2 separate regions of the Homo sapiens genome follow, and region 2 is linked to region 1. The links are contacts of gene promoters, found by promoter capture Hi-C in human tissues and cell types (Jung and others, 2019). All regions are on one chromosome and are shown on one strand. Each heading gives the region's core, a stretch centred on a gene start or on the middle of the fragment in contact. The rest is flanking DNA. Distances are from core to core; before and after follow the strand shown. Region 1 holds the start of TYROBP (transmembrane immune signaling adaptor TYROBP). Region 2 has its middle 23 kb from the start of SDHAF1.

Evidence for each region. Contacts are between HindIII fragments. The study calls those that stand out against the background at their distance.
Region 2: a contact is called between a fragment that was not itself captured here and the fragment with the promoter of TYROBP in region 1, in 6 of the 25 tissues and cell types used here (H1 embryonic stem cells, dorsolateral prefrontal cortex, lymphoblastoid cells and 3 more).

Annotation. Positions count from the first base shown.
Region 1 is chr19:35,905,388-35,912,000 of GRCh38, forward strand. It overlaps TYROBP (transmembrane immune signaling adaptor TYROBP), which reads right to left and starts at 2,908. Exons shown (of 5, transcript NM_003332.4): 1 at 2,781-2,908; 2 at 2,343-2,375; 3 at 2,059-2,193; 4 at 1,831-1,877. The coding sequence starts at 2,841. RefSeq lists a silencer at 1,920-2,073 and enhancers at 3,885-4,014, 4,165-4,214, 4,315-4,424. The HindIII fragment of the contact is 6,909 bases long and covers 182-6,613 here.
Region 2 is chr19:35,969,114-35,975,726 of GRCh38, forward strand. No RefSeq gene overlaps it. Among named protein-coding and RNA genes, the nearest start is that of SDHAF1, 23 kb to the right of the region's middle. RefSeq lists a silencer at 4,441-4,641. The HindIII fragment of the contact is 9,546 bases long and covers 1-6,613 here.

The DNA.
Region 1 (6,613 bases), core at 1,658-4,157:
TGACTAGTCTGGGCGTGCATTCTTCAGGGGAGAGGTCTTAGAGAATCTCATGACCCCCTAAAGGGTTAAAAAGGAACATTGACAGAGAGGGGGATAGATGACTAGATTCTCTTGTATACTCTATAGTTTTTAAAAAGAGCTTCAGCCAGGCATGGTGACTCATGCCTATAATCCCAGCACTTTGGGAGACCGAGGTAACAGGATCTCTTGAGCCCAGGAGTTTGAGACCAGCCTGGGCAACATAGTGAGAACCTATCTCTACTTTAAAAAAAAAAAAAAAATTAAGGCCGGGCGCGGTGGCTCACACCTCTAATCCCAGCACTTTGGGAGGGAAAGGTGGGCGGATCACGAGGTCAGGAGATTGAGACCAGCCTGGCCAACATAGTGAAACCCCATCTCTACTAAAAATACAAAAATTAGCCGGGTGTGGTGGCATGCACCTGTAGTTCCAGCTACTCGGGAGGCTCAGGCAAGAGAATCGCTTGAACCTGGGAGGTGGAGGTTGCAGTGAGCTGAGACCACACCATTGCACTCCAGCCTGGGTGACAGAATGAGACTCCATCTCAAAAAAAAAAAAAAATTAAAGTAGAGAAAGAAAAAAGAGCTTCAAGAATACTCAACCAGCATGGTTGCTTGAGCCTGTAATCCCAAGATTTTCGGAGGCTGAGGCGGGAGGATCACTTGAGACTGGGAGTTTGAGACCAGCTGGGGCAACATAGTGAGACCCCTGTCTTTTTTTTTTTTTTGAGATGGAGTCTCACTCTGTCGCCCAGGCTCACTGCAACCTCCGCCCCCTGGGTTCAAGCGATTCTCTTGCCTCAGCCTCCTGAGAAGCTGGAATTACAGGCGCATGACACCATGCCCAGCTAATTTTTGTATTTTTAGTAGAGATGGGGTTTCACCATCCTGGCCTGGCTGGTCTTGAACTCCTGACCTCGTGATCCACCCACCTTGGCCTCCCAAAGTGCTGGGATTACAGGTGTGTGCCACCATGCCTGGCCAAAAAAAAATTTTTTTTAATTATAAAGAACATTTACACTGCTCTCAGATTATATGCACAATTTTGTATTTTTTGTGTAGATTTTTCTGGGAGTCTAGATTTTCTTAGTTTCTCAAAGGGATGAAGGGTCCTCAAACCCAAAAAAGAGATTCTAGGACTCCTCTCTTTAGAGTTACCAAGGTAGGGCTGAATGACATTCTCTGCCCTACTGAGAGCGTCTCCCAGAAATCAGTCGTCCTAGGGCTGGGTTTCTTCCAGAAAATTCCTGGCCTGACTTCTGGCAAGGCCTGTGTTTACACTTACAAAGGCAAAGCCACCCTTTTTTTTTTCTTTTTAACTCTTCACGCTTTTTTTTTTTTGACAGAGTTTTCCTCTTGTTGCCCAGGCTGGAGTGCAATTGCGTGATCTTGGCTCACTGCAACCTCCGCCTCCTGGGTCAAAGGATTCTCCTGCCTCAGCCTCCCAAGTAGCTGGGATTACAGGCATGCGTTACCACGCCCAGCTAATTTTGTATTTTTAGTAGAGACAGGGTTTCACCATGTTGGTCTCGAACTCCTGACCTCAAGTGATCCACCCGCCTCTGTCTCCCAAAGTGCTGGGATTACAGGTTTGAGTCACCGTGCCCAGCCCCTCTTCACACATTTTAAGCTGACCATAAGCTTGTGGTTGATCATTCGGCCCAGTTTTGGACAGATGTCCCATGTGCCTTCAAGGTTTGGGGGTGCTTTAGGCAGAGTGGCTTTGAGGTCCCTCTGATGGCATGAAGGAGTATCTGGGGCAGATATCCCTGGCAGGAGTGAAATGTGAGGAGGACAGTCTGGTTTTCTCACCTGATAAGGCGACTCGGTCTCAGTGATACGCTGTTTCCGGGTCGCTGCTGGAGGTGAGGGGTGTTGTGGGGTGCAGAGACAGGCAGAGTGGTGAGTTGAGGGTGTTTTGTCATTCCAAATCAGCACCTCCATTACCATCCCTTTGGATGTTTGAGATCTGGGAGTTTACCCAGCCCCCCACCCCCATCTAGGCAAGTCCTCAGGATGTCCCCTGCTAGCCCCACTCACCCTCCGCAGCCCCTCGCCCCCGAGGGACCAGCCGGCCCAGGAAGTACACGGCCAGGGCAATGAGCACTGTCAGCACCAGGTCTCCCATCACGATCCCTGCCAGCACGCCCGGGCTCACCGTAGAGCAACTGCAATCTGCAGCACAGGGGTCAGGGGAGGTCAGTGTGTGCTGGGAACTGTGGGGAGGGGGGTCAGCGGCAGGGAGGTTTGGAAAGGGTGTGGGAGAGACGGAGACAGGGAGGTCTCTGGGAGGTAGAGAGAGGGACTGCTGGGTCTAGGCCTACCGCTCTGGGCCTGGGCCTGGACAGGACGGAGACCTGAGGAGGAAAAAGAAGGTAAACTGAGGCACAGAGTTATGACGGGGGTGGGGGAGGCAAGTTTAGAAGCCAGGGAAGGTGGATCCTGACAGCCAAGAGGTTAGCAAGGGGGAGAGCGTGTCTGGCGGGACTCAGGGGGCTGGCGTCTGGGCCACCGGACTATGTGCGTTACTTCTGCACAACTTGTCCTGTGGCAACACACTTAGATGTCTCTTCTCCCCTGCTTGTAGCGGACGACAAAACTTGGGGGCTTGGGCTCTGGGAGAAACCCACAGGCTTTGGGAGGTTGGGGACCTGCTCCCATCCCAACACCCACTTTTGGTTCTCTCGTTCCACCCCACTCCCTGCCCTGCCCCAAGCTGAGCCCAGGGACCCGGGAGGCAGCCACGGAAGCCCCTAACTCACCACTTACAGCCAGCAGGAGAGGCAGGAGCAGGAGCCTGCTGCAGGGTTCAAGTCCCCCCATGAAGCCGGATGCTGCTGGACACCACAGTGTAAGGGCCGGTGGGATGTGGCGCAGCGTCCAGGCAAGTGAAGGAGGAAGTCTGAGGCGGGTGGTGGCAGAAGGGAGGAGGAGACAGGGGAGGAGAGACAGAAACAAAACCCAAGAAAGAATCAGGCCCAGACACCCAGGGGCCATGCCACAGGCCCCCAGCAACTAGACGTGAAGGGCAAAGGGTACGTGAAGCACAAACTTCACCTCCGTCCCCAGTCAGGGGTCAGACATCGTTTTAACAGGAGGGTCAGTGTCATGACCTTCCTCTGGCTGATTGAAACCAGCTCTGCCTCTTCCTGGCTGGTCAACCTTGAGTGCAATGGCACGGTCTCGGCTCACTGCAACCTCTGCCTCCCGGGTTCAAGTGATTCTCCTGCCTCAGCCTCCCAAGTAGCTGGGATTATAGGCGCCTGCCACCATGCCCGGCTAATTTTTTGTATTTTTTTTTCTTTTTTTTTTAGTAGAGACAGGGTTTCACCATGTTGGCCAGCTGGTCTCAAACTCCTGACCTCAGGTGATCCACCCACCTTGGCCTCCCGAAGTGCTAGGATTGCAAGTGTGAGCCACCGCACCCAGCTCCAACCTCAGTTTCTTCATCTGTAAAATTGGGAGTAAAATGGGACCTACTTTTTAGAGTTGTGGGGATTAAATGAATTAAAGTTCCTAGACCAGGGTCTGACCCTTGTCAGCTTTTTAAAAGCATCAGCTATGATGATGATTATTTAATCATCAGAAACTTGTGCTGTTTAAAGGATATTAAAAGAGCCAGCAGCATGTGGGCACTAATGACATGCAGGCACTCTGTCCCAAGCGTTAAATCATTCAGTCCCCGCAATGCCCTTCTAGGGCACATGCTCTTATCATCCCCATTGTTCAGAGAGGTAGAGACGCTTGCCTAAGGCTGCACAGCAAATCAAGGTGGAAATGGAACCCAAGACCCAAAATCAGGTTTTTGACTAGGGAAGAGTCAGGGGGAAAAACAAAGATGAAAGATGGGGAAGGAGAAAACAGCGGCAAAGCTGAGAAAGGTGAGAGTAAGGCAGTGGCACAGACACAGAGGCACGGCTGGCGGCTTGGGGAGAGGCAGGTGGCTGGCTCTCCTGCTGAATGAGGAAGTGGCTGGGAGCAAGGCCCAAGGGAGGCCACCCCAAGGAGACGGGGACTTCTAGCCCCCAGCTGGAGCCTGGGGCTGGGGAAGGAGGAACCTGAGGTTAGGGTGCTGGAGGATGAGACAGCTGCAGGAAGCCCCCCTCCCCCATCCACACGTCACACCCACCGCTCCTTGGGCCTGGGCTTAGGAGAAAAAAGGGGAAACTGGATTCTGGTCACAGGGCAGATGCCCAGTGGCCTGTGGGGGAAGGGAGGAGAGGAGATTTGGAGCCTGGAGGAGGGTCAGGTCCCAGCTCAGCCCACGGTCACCACTGTTCAGGCCTGGCTGAGTCCCCTCCCTTAAAAACCCAAGCCTCTCCCATTGTGTCTAGAGCGAGCATGGAGGGAACAGACCCTGTAGGTCCTCCCGGGCACACCAGGCCACCCAATGTGTTGGAGCAGAGTGGGCGAGGGGGCAGTCAGAGACCAGAGCAGGGCTCTGAGCCAGGAGGGCCCTGACCTGACTCAGGGGTTCACAGGTTCCCTCCGGCCGCAGGTGGGGAGCAGACTGTGGAGGCAGGGACTGGAGCAGGGAGGCCAGGCTGCTGGGATATTTGTGAGGATATTGTGAGGTCTATTAGAATAATGCCTGGTTGAGTTCAAGACCAGCCCGGCCAGCATGGTGAAACCCCATCTCTACTAAAAATTAGGCTGGGCACGGTGGCTTATGCCTGTAATCCCAGCACTTTGGGAGGCTGAGGCGGGCGGATCACGAGGTCAGGAGATCGAGACCATCCTGGCCAACATGGTGAAACCCGGTCTCTACTAAAAATACAAAAAATTACCTGGGCATGGTGGTGGGCACCTGTAGTCCCAGCTACTCAGAAGGCTGAGGCAAGACAATACCTTGAACCTGGAAGGTGGAGGTTACAGTGAGCTGAGATCGCGCCACTGCACTCCAGCCTGGGCGACACAGCAAGACTCTGTCTCAAAATAATGATAATAATAATAAAGGGCCAAGCGCGGTGGATCACGCCTGTAATCCAACACTTTGGAAGACCGAGGTGGGCGGATCCCCTGAGGTCGGCAGTTCGAGACCAGCCTGACCAATATGGAGAAACTCGGTCTTTACTAAAAAATACAAAATTAGCCTGGCGTGGTGGCGCGTGCCTGTAATTCCAGCTACTCAGGAGCCTGAGGCAGGAGAATCGCTTGAACCCAGGAGGCAGAGGTTGCAGTGAGCAGAGATTGCGCCATTGCACTCCAGCCTGGGCAACAAAAGCGAAACTCAGTCTCAAAATAATAATAATAATAATAATAATAATAATAATAATAATAATAATAATAAACTTTCACTCCTGCTCTAAAACTTACCTTGGTTTCTCACTCTGCCTTATGTCCCTTGGTCAAATTCTTTTTTGAGGAGGCAAGGATTGAGGTTGCTGCAGACCCCTATGGATTCACTGCTGCGAACATACTTCGGTACCGTGTGACTTGGATATGTTCCATGCTAAAAATTAGTATGTCCAGTCTCGAGTTCTCAGCTTAGCTTGATAAAAATCCTCCCTCAGCCAGGTGCAGTGGCTCACACCTGTAATCCCAGGCGTGATTTTGGATTTTGGGACTTTAGGAGGCCAAGGAGGGTGGATCACCTGAGGTCAGGAGTTTGAGACCAGCCTGGCCAACATGGTGAAACCCTGTCTCTACTAAAAATACAAAAACTAGCCAGACATGGTGGCAGGCGCCTGTAATACCAGCTACTTGGGAGGCTGAGGCAGGAGAATCGCTTGAACCTGGGAGGCAGAGGTTGCAGTGAGCCAAGATCATGCCATTGCACTCCAGCCTGGATGACAAGAGTGAGACTTTGACTCAGAAAAAAAAAAAAAATCCTCCCTCAGTCCTTCAGCATCAGCCTCCTAGTCTCATCCTCCCCACTTCAGCCAGGCCTGGGCTGTCCCCAGAAGATATTCCCCAAGCACCATCCAGTCATACGGATGTGGCCATAGGGGCTGGAATCAGGGTCCTAGAGCGCCACCTTTAGTTGCTGAGATGTGGGAAAGTCCAAGGGGTCCCCAAAGAATGGACTCGGGTGGTAGCAGACATCTGTGGGCTATGTGGGCTCTTTACTAACCAGAAGTGGAATGTTTCAACATTTTAGCAACCAATACAACTGTGCTGATGCAGACCACAGGTGGCAGGTCTGGGCTGGCCTCTGGGCTAGAGGACGGATAAAACACTCTCTTTGGCCAGGCATAGTGGCTCACACCTGTAATCCCACCACTTTGGGAGACTGAGGCGGGTGGATCACTTGAGGTCAGGAGTTTGAGACCATCCTGGCCAACATGGTGAAACCCCGTCCCTGCTAAAAAATACAAAAATTAGCCAGGCGTGGTGGTACACATCTGTAATCCCAGCTACTCAGGAGGCTAAGGCAGGAGAATCGCTTGAACCTGGGAGGCAGAGGTTGCAGTGAGCCGAGATCGCACCACTGCACTCAAGCCTGGGCAACAGAGCAAGACTCCGTCTCAAAATAAACAAAACAAAACAAAACAAAAAAACCCTCCCTCTTTGGATGAAGGAAGAAGCTGAGATTCAGGGCACCCAGCAACAAGGCGCTGCCCCAAGACACTGCCAGACTCCTGGAAGCTGAGCT
Region 2 (6,613 bases), core at 3,069-5,568, 65 kb after region 1:
AAAAAAATTGTTTACCGGGCATAGTGGCTCATGCCCATAATCCCAGCACTTTGGGAGGCCAAGGTGGGCGGATCACCTAAGGTCAGGAGTTCGAGACCAGCCTGGCCAACATGGTGAAATCCCATCCCTACTAAAAACACAAAAATTAGCTGGGCATGGTGGCGGGTGCCTGTAATCCCAGCTACTGGGGATGCTAAAGAAGGAGAATCACTTGAACCTGGGAGGCAGAAGTTGTAGTGAGCTGAGATCACGCCACCGAACTCCAGCCTGGGGGACACAGTGAGAGTCTGTCTCAAAAAAAAAAAAAAAAAAAAAAAAAAAAAAAAAAAGATGCAATTATACAGGTCCAAAGTCCCTTATCTAAAATGTCTGGGGCCAGGTGCATTTCAGATTTTGGAATTTAGAATGGTCAAACCAGGCAAATGCCACATATTATATAACACTCCCAGTGTGTGTTACATAATCACAAACATTAATATCTTTGCAGTGAAATGTCTGAATAGTCACACAAAGGAGGATAAATTAAGACTATAGCAGCCACACATGAGTTCAGGTTAGCTTTTGCTGATAATTGAGTTTTAACATCAAACACACAAAACATATTCAGTCTTCAGGTCTTTTGGTTGTTGTTGTTGTTGTTTGCTTTTGTAGATGGTAGATAAGGGATTGTGGCTCTCTAGCTCCTCCCTCAGCAGGTTCCTGTGAGGTGAGAATGAGTTAACACAGGAAAAGCACTTGGAACAGAGTCCAACTCATGGTAAGTGTCATATGAGGGGGTGTTTGCTGTGTTTATCATTTCCTGACACAGGCATATGAAGCTTCCAAATTCCCCGAGCTGTGAACATATCCTAGGACCACATGCAGCCACTAGCATGTCCCAAATCTCTCCTCCAGGAAGGTTTAGGGGCTCTGCTCTGGTTAGAAGGTTGTGGGGGCTAGAGTATGTTTAATCCGGGTTGCTGGCTGGGGGGACCTGATGAAGGTTATGATGTACTAGTGTACCCAGACCAAACCGAGGGTTGGGCTGCTTATTCTCACAGCCTAATAATGAGACACAAATAAACTGGGAAAGAAGAGAATTTTTATTTCTGTAACTGATTACAGGGAGAAGGCCTGGAAATTATCCCCAGATCAACTCAAAATTATAACGTTTTCCAGAGCTTATATACATTCTAGGCTATATTAGAAGAAATTAATCACTTATGTCTTTAGATGAATGCAAACTTACATGAGTAAATTTACTTCATCTAAATGGGTCCAGGTGCTGGGGTGATTACCCTTATCTTGTCTCCTGCTAAATTATGGAGGCTTGGGGAGTTCCTTTAGTCTCCAATAAAGCTTGTTTGTGAAGGTCTGGGGAGTTCCTTCAGACCCCCAATAAAGCTTGTATAATCTTAAATGGGAACTGTTAAGAATTCCTTCGTGAGGCTGGGCATGGTGGCTCATGCCTGTAATACCAGCACTTTGGGAGGCTGAGGCGGGAGGATCACCTGAGGTCGGGAGTTCGAGACCAGCCTGACCAACACAGAGAAATCCCATCTCTACTAAAAATACAAAATTAGCTGGGCATGGTGGCGCATGCCTGTAATCCCAGCTACTCGGGAAGCTGAGGCAAGAGAATTGCTTGAACCTGGGAGGTGGAGGTTGTGGTGAGCTGAGATCGCGCCATTGCACTCCAGCCTGGGCAACAAGAGTGAAACTCTGTCTCAAAAAAACAAAAAATAAAGGAATTCCTTCATGATCTTGTCATGCCTCAAGGGCCAGGAAAGGCCTGGCCTAAACTCTTGGTGAGCTTTTGTTACATTCCAGCCTTTGTATGGACGCTGGCTCTACCAGCGTTTTTTGTTTTGTTTCTTTTTTCTTTTTTGAGACGGAGTCTCACTCTCTTGTCCAGGCTGGAGCACAGTGGCGCCATCTCAACTCACTGCAACCTCCTCCTCCCAGATTCAACTCTCCCAGGTAGCTGGGATTACAGGTGTGCACCACCATGCCCAGCTAATTTTTTTTGTATTTTTAGTAGAGACGGGGCTTTACTATATTGGCCAGGCTGGTCTCGAACTCCCGACCTCAGATGATCCTCCTGCCTCAGCCTCCCAAAGTGCTGGGCTTACAGGCGTGAGCCACCGCTCCTGGCCTCTATCAGCTTTTAGTATTTAACCCAACCACAGTCAGTGCTAAAACAGTTGTTATGGAGGCCTGCGTTCATGAGATGTGGCTTGCCACACTAGGCCACCCCTCAGCACCACTATAGAAAAACAATGGTGGCCTGGGTTCAAATTCCGGTTTGGCACTTGATATCTATGTGACCTTGGATAAATTATTTAACCTCTCTGGGCCTCAATTTCTTCATATGTGAAATGAGAATGATGAAAAGATCTGATTCATAGGGCTGTAGTGAGGATTAAATGAGCTAATATATGGAAAGCACAGAAAATATGCAAAGCTAGGACCCGAGACGTGAAGCCATGATGCTGCATACCTGCCTCCACACCGCCTGGGAGTTTGCCCTGCCACTCAGGGGTCAGGATGCCCCCCAGTGCTCTTAAGGCTCCCCAGCATCCAGTAGCCCCCACCCCAGGTATCCAGAACCTTCAGATACTCAGGGCTCCAGACTTATACTCTCACCAACATGATCCCTCTTTTCCCAAGGACTTGACACTCCTGTGTTCCTTCCTCAATTAATTGGAATTTTAGAATTTTTTTTTTTTTTTTGAGACTGAGTCTCACTCTGTTGCCCAGGCTGGAGTGCAGTGGTGAGATCTTGGCTCACTGCAACCTCTGCCTCCCAGGTTCAAGCAATTGTCCTGCCTCAGCCTCCCAAGTAGCCTGGGACTACAGGCACATGCCACCACACTCGGATAATTTTTGTGTTTTTAGTAGACACGGGGTTTCACTATGTTGGCCAGGCTGGTCTGGAACTCTTGACCTCAGGTGATCCACCTGCCTCAGCCTCCCAAAGTGCTGGGATTACAGGCGTGAGCCACTGCGCCCTGCCAAGATTTGGGCAGGGACAAATAGCCAAACTATATCAGACACTAACAACATCCCTGTGGCTGCCAGTTGAGAACAGATTACAGGGCTTGTGAAGGAATGAGGCCTGGAGGAACAACAGTGAGGAGGCTGCTGCAGTAGTCCCGGCAGGAGACAATGGGGCTTGGACCAGGGTGGGGCAGTGAACGCAGGAGAAATGTGGGCTGGAAACCACCAAGTGAGGCAAAATAAGGAAATCATGGACTGGGAGAAAGGAGGTACCCCTTGATCTGGAAGGACAGGTGGAGGCTCTTGGTAATGGGGGAAGCCCTTGGGTCCTGTCTGAAGGCTCTCCTGTTTACTGGATGAGGTGGGCACACCTGGCTCCTTGGTAGGATTACTCATCTAGATTCCTGAGAAGAGGACTTGCAAGTATTGTGTTAGGACAAATCTGGATATTGAAATCAAGACTCCCAGTTTAAAAAAAAAAAAAAAGAAGGCCGGGCACAGTGGCTCACGCCTGTAATCCCAACACTTTGGGAGGCCAAGGCGGGCGGATCACGAGGTCAGGAGTTCAAAACCAGCCTGACCAACATGGTGAAACCCTGTCTCTACTAAAACTACAAAAATTAGCTTGGCATGGTAGTGCACGCCTGTAATCCCAGCTACTCAGGAGGCTGAGAGAGCAGAATTGCTTGAACCTGGGAGGTGGAGGTTGCAGTGAGCCAAGATCTCGCCACTGCATTCCAGCCTGGGAGACAGAGCGAGACTCTGTCTCAAAAAAAAAAAAAAAAAAAAAAAAGATTCCCGGATAGAGGCTGGGCATGGTGGCTCACATCTACAATCCCAGCACTTTAGGAGGCCAAGGTGGGCAGACTGCTTGAGCTCAGGAGTTCCAGACCAGCCTGGGCAACATGACGAAACCTCGTCTCTACTTAAACACACACACACACACACACACACACACACACACACACACACACACACACACACAGAAAGATTCTTGGTTAGCTGGGCACGGTGGCTCACACCTGTAATCACAGCACTTTGGGAGGCCAAGGTGGGCGGATCACAAGGTCAGGAGATCGAGACCATCCTGGCTAGCACAGTGAAACCCTGTCTCTACTAAAAATACAAAAAATTACGGGGCGTGGTGGCAGGCGCCTGTAGTCCCAGCTACTGGGGAGGCTGAGACAGGAGAATGGCGTGAACCCAGGAGACGGAGCTTGCAGTGAGCCGAGACTGTGCCACTGCACTCCAACCTGGGCGGCAGGGTGAGACTCTGTCTCGAAAAAAAAAAAAAGAAGAAGAAGAAGAAAAAGAAAGATTCTTGGTTAGTAGACGAGGGTGGGGCATCCTAGATCTGCAAAGGCCCCACTCTCAATATCCCAGAATCCAACCCCCTCAACCTCCTTATCCTCCACCCCTCCCCGATGCTCAGGAATTCAGCCCCTCTGAAGACCCCAGCTCTTGGTCACTCCTGCAGGGGAACCCACAGCAGCTGGGGCTGTCAGTTATCCTGGGCGACAGATGGCTATGGTTGTACTTCCACACCTCAGAACCATGGGCAGAGGCAGGTCTGGAGCAAGAACCGCCCACACTGCATCTCTTTTACAACCGGCAGCACACACGTCACTGCACGTGGCTGAAGGTTGCCACTCACACAAGGCAGACTGTGCAGTGACTTCATTCAGGCAGGACCATGACATGGGCAGTCCAGATCCACTGGTCTTCGTGCATTTGGGCCCCGCAGCCACCTGATACCCTGAGCCAAGCCTTAGTCCCCACAGGAGACTGGGGGCCCTGTGCTGTCCCTGTAGCCCCAAAGGGGCCCCTTAGCCACTGCCACCAAGTGTGACACCTACACCCTTCGAGGCCAGTGCCGTGCCTGGATATGCCCCTTCCCCAGCTCCCTGCCTACGCTTTGGGAGTGCTTCCATGTCTGTGTACACCCTGTCAGGCCTCAGTGTCAACACTGAGCCCTCGAGCTTCTGGGCTGGCTGCCGTGAGTGACCCTTCAAGGGAAAGGGTTATAGGCTGCTGGGTAAAGGGGATTCTGGGACTTAGGAATGACACTCCTTAGTTCTGGAGGCTGATTCCTGGGGCAAGGGTGTAGGGTCCCTGGAAGGGGACAGCCTCTGGGTCCTGGGGGCAAGACTGCTGAGTTGGGGGGTGCGGGGAAAATAATTCTAGGGCCCAGAGACAGGGCTCTTTGGGTCTGGGGCCAGGGCTTCTGGGTCCTGGGCATGGGAACAACTTGGCTATAGGGCTGGGACTGCTGGGTTCTCAAGTTCTAGAGACTAGAACACCTAGGTGGTGACAACTCCAGTATCTGGGGTGAGCGCTCTGAGTCCCAGAGCCAGACTTATTTATTTATTTAGACAGGATGTCACTCTGTTGTTTATTTAGACAGGGTATCACTCTGTTGCCAAGGCTGGAGTGCAGTGGTACTATCATAGCTCACTGCAGCCTCAACCTCCCAGGCTCAAGCCATCCTCCCTCCTCAGCTTCCCAAGTATCTGGGACCACGGGCATGTGCCACTATGCCCAGATAATTTTTTAATTTTTTTTGTAAAGATGAGGTCTTCCTATGTTGCCCAGGCTGGTCTCTAATTCCTGAGCTCAAGTGATCCTCCCACCTTGGCCTCCCAAAATGCTGGGATTACAGATGTGAGCCACTACGCCTGTCCCAGAGCCAGACTTCTATGTTCTGGGGAGTGGACTTCTGGTTTCTTAGCACAGAGACTTCTTTACTCTGTGAGGCAGGGATTGCTGGGTCTGTTGCCTGGAGAGCTCCATTCTAGAGGGTGAGGACCACAGGATGTTGGTAGGGATTCCTGGAAGCTGAGAGCAGGGACATTTGCACTATAGGGGTGGCCAAATGCTTGGGTCTTGGAAACCAGACCTGGGAGTCCTGGTGTGAATACCTTTCCCTTCCTGTCTTTCTCCATCCCCACTCCTGCCCCTGCAGCTATTGAGTGCCCCGAAAACAATCACTATGAGCCATGTGGCTTATCCTGTCCAGAGACCCCCCACAGGCAGGCCCACTGGGGGTTACCACTGCCCTGCGGGCATACTTGTGCCTGCGACACAGGCTGCTTCTTCCTTTTTTAAGAGACAGGGTCCTGCCAGGCGCGGTGGCTCATGCCCGTAATCCCAGCACTTTAGGAGGCTGAGGCAGGCGGATAATCTGAGGTCAGGAGTTCAAGACCAGCCTGACCAATATGATGAAACCCCATCTCTACTAAAAATACAAAAATTAGTTGGGTGTGGTGGCAGGTGCCTATAATCCCAGAATCTAGGGAGGCTGAGACAGGAGAATCGCTTGAACTCAGGAGGTGGAGATTGGAGTGAGCCGAGATTGTGCCACTGCACTCCAGCCTGGGCGACAGAGCAAGACTCTGTCAAAAACAAAATCCTAGAATCTCAAGGGCAAGCCCCAGTGTACCAGAAGTGTCAGACTCTGGGATCTTGGAACCCAGTTCTGAGCCAATAATTCCATTTCCTCATTCAACAACCATATATTGAGTATCTACTGTGTTCCAGGCACTATTTGAAGTGCTTCTTTAAGTATGTTAACTGAATTTCAGAACACACTCTCAGTCCAGGTCCTGGGCACCCCCATATAGGATCCAGGAGTTCT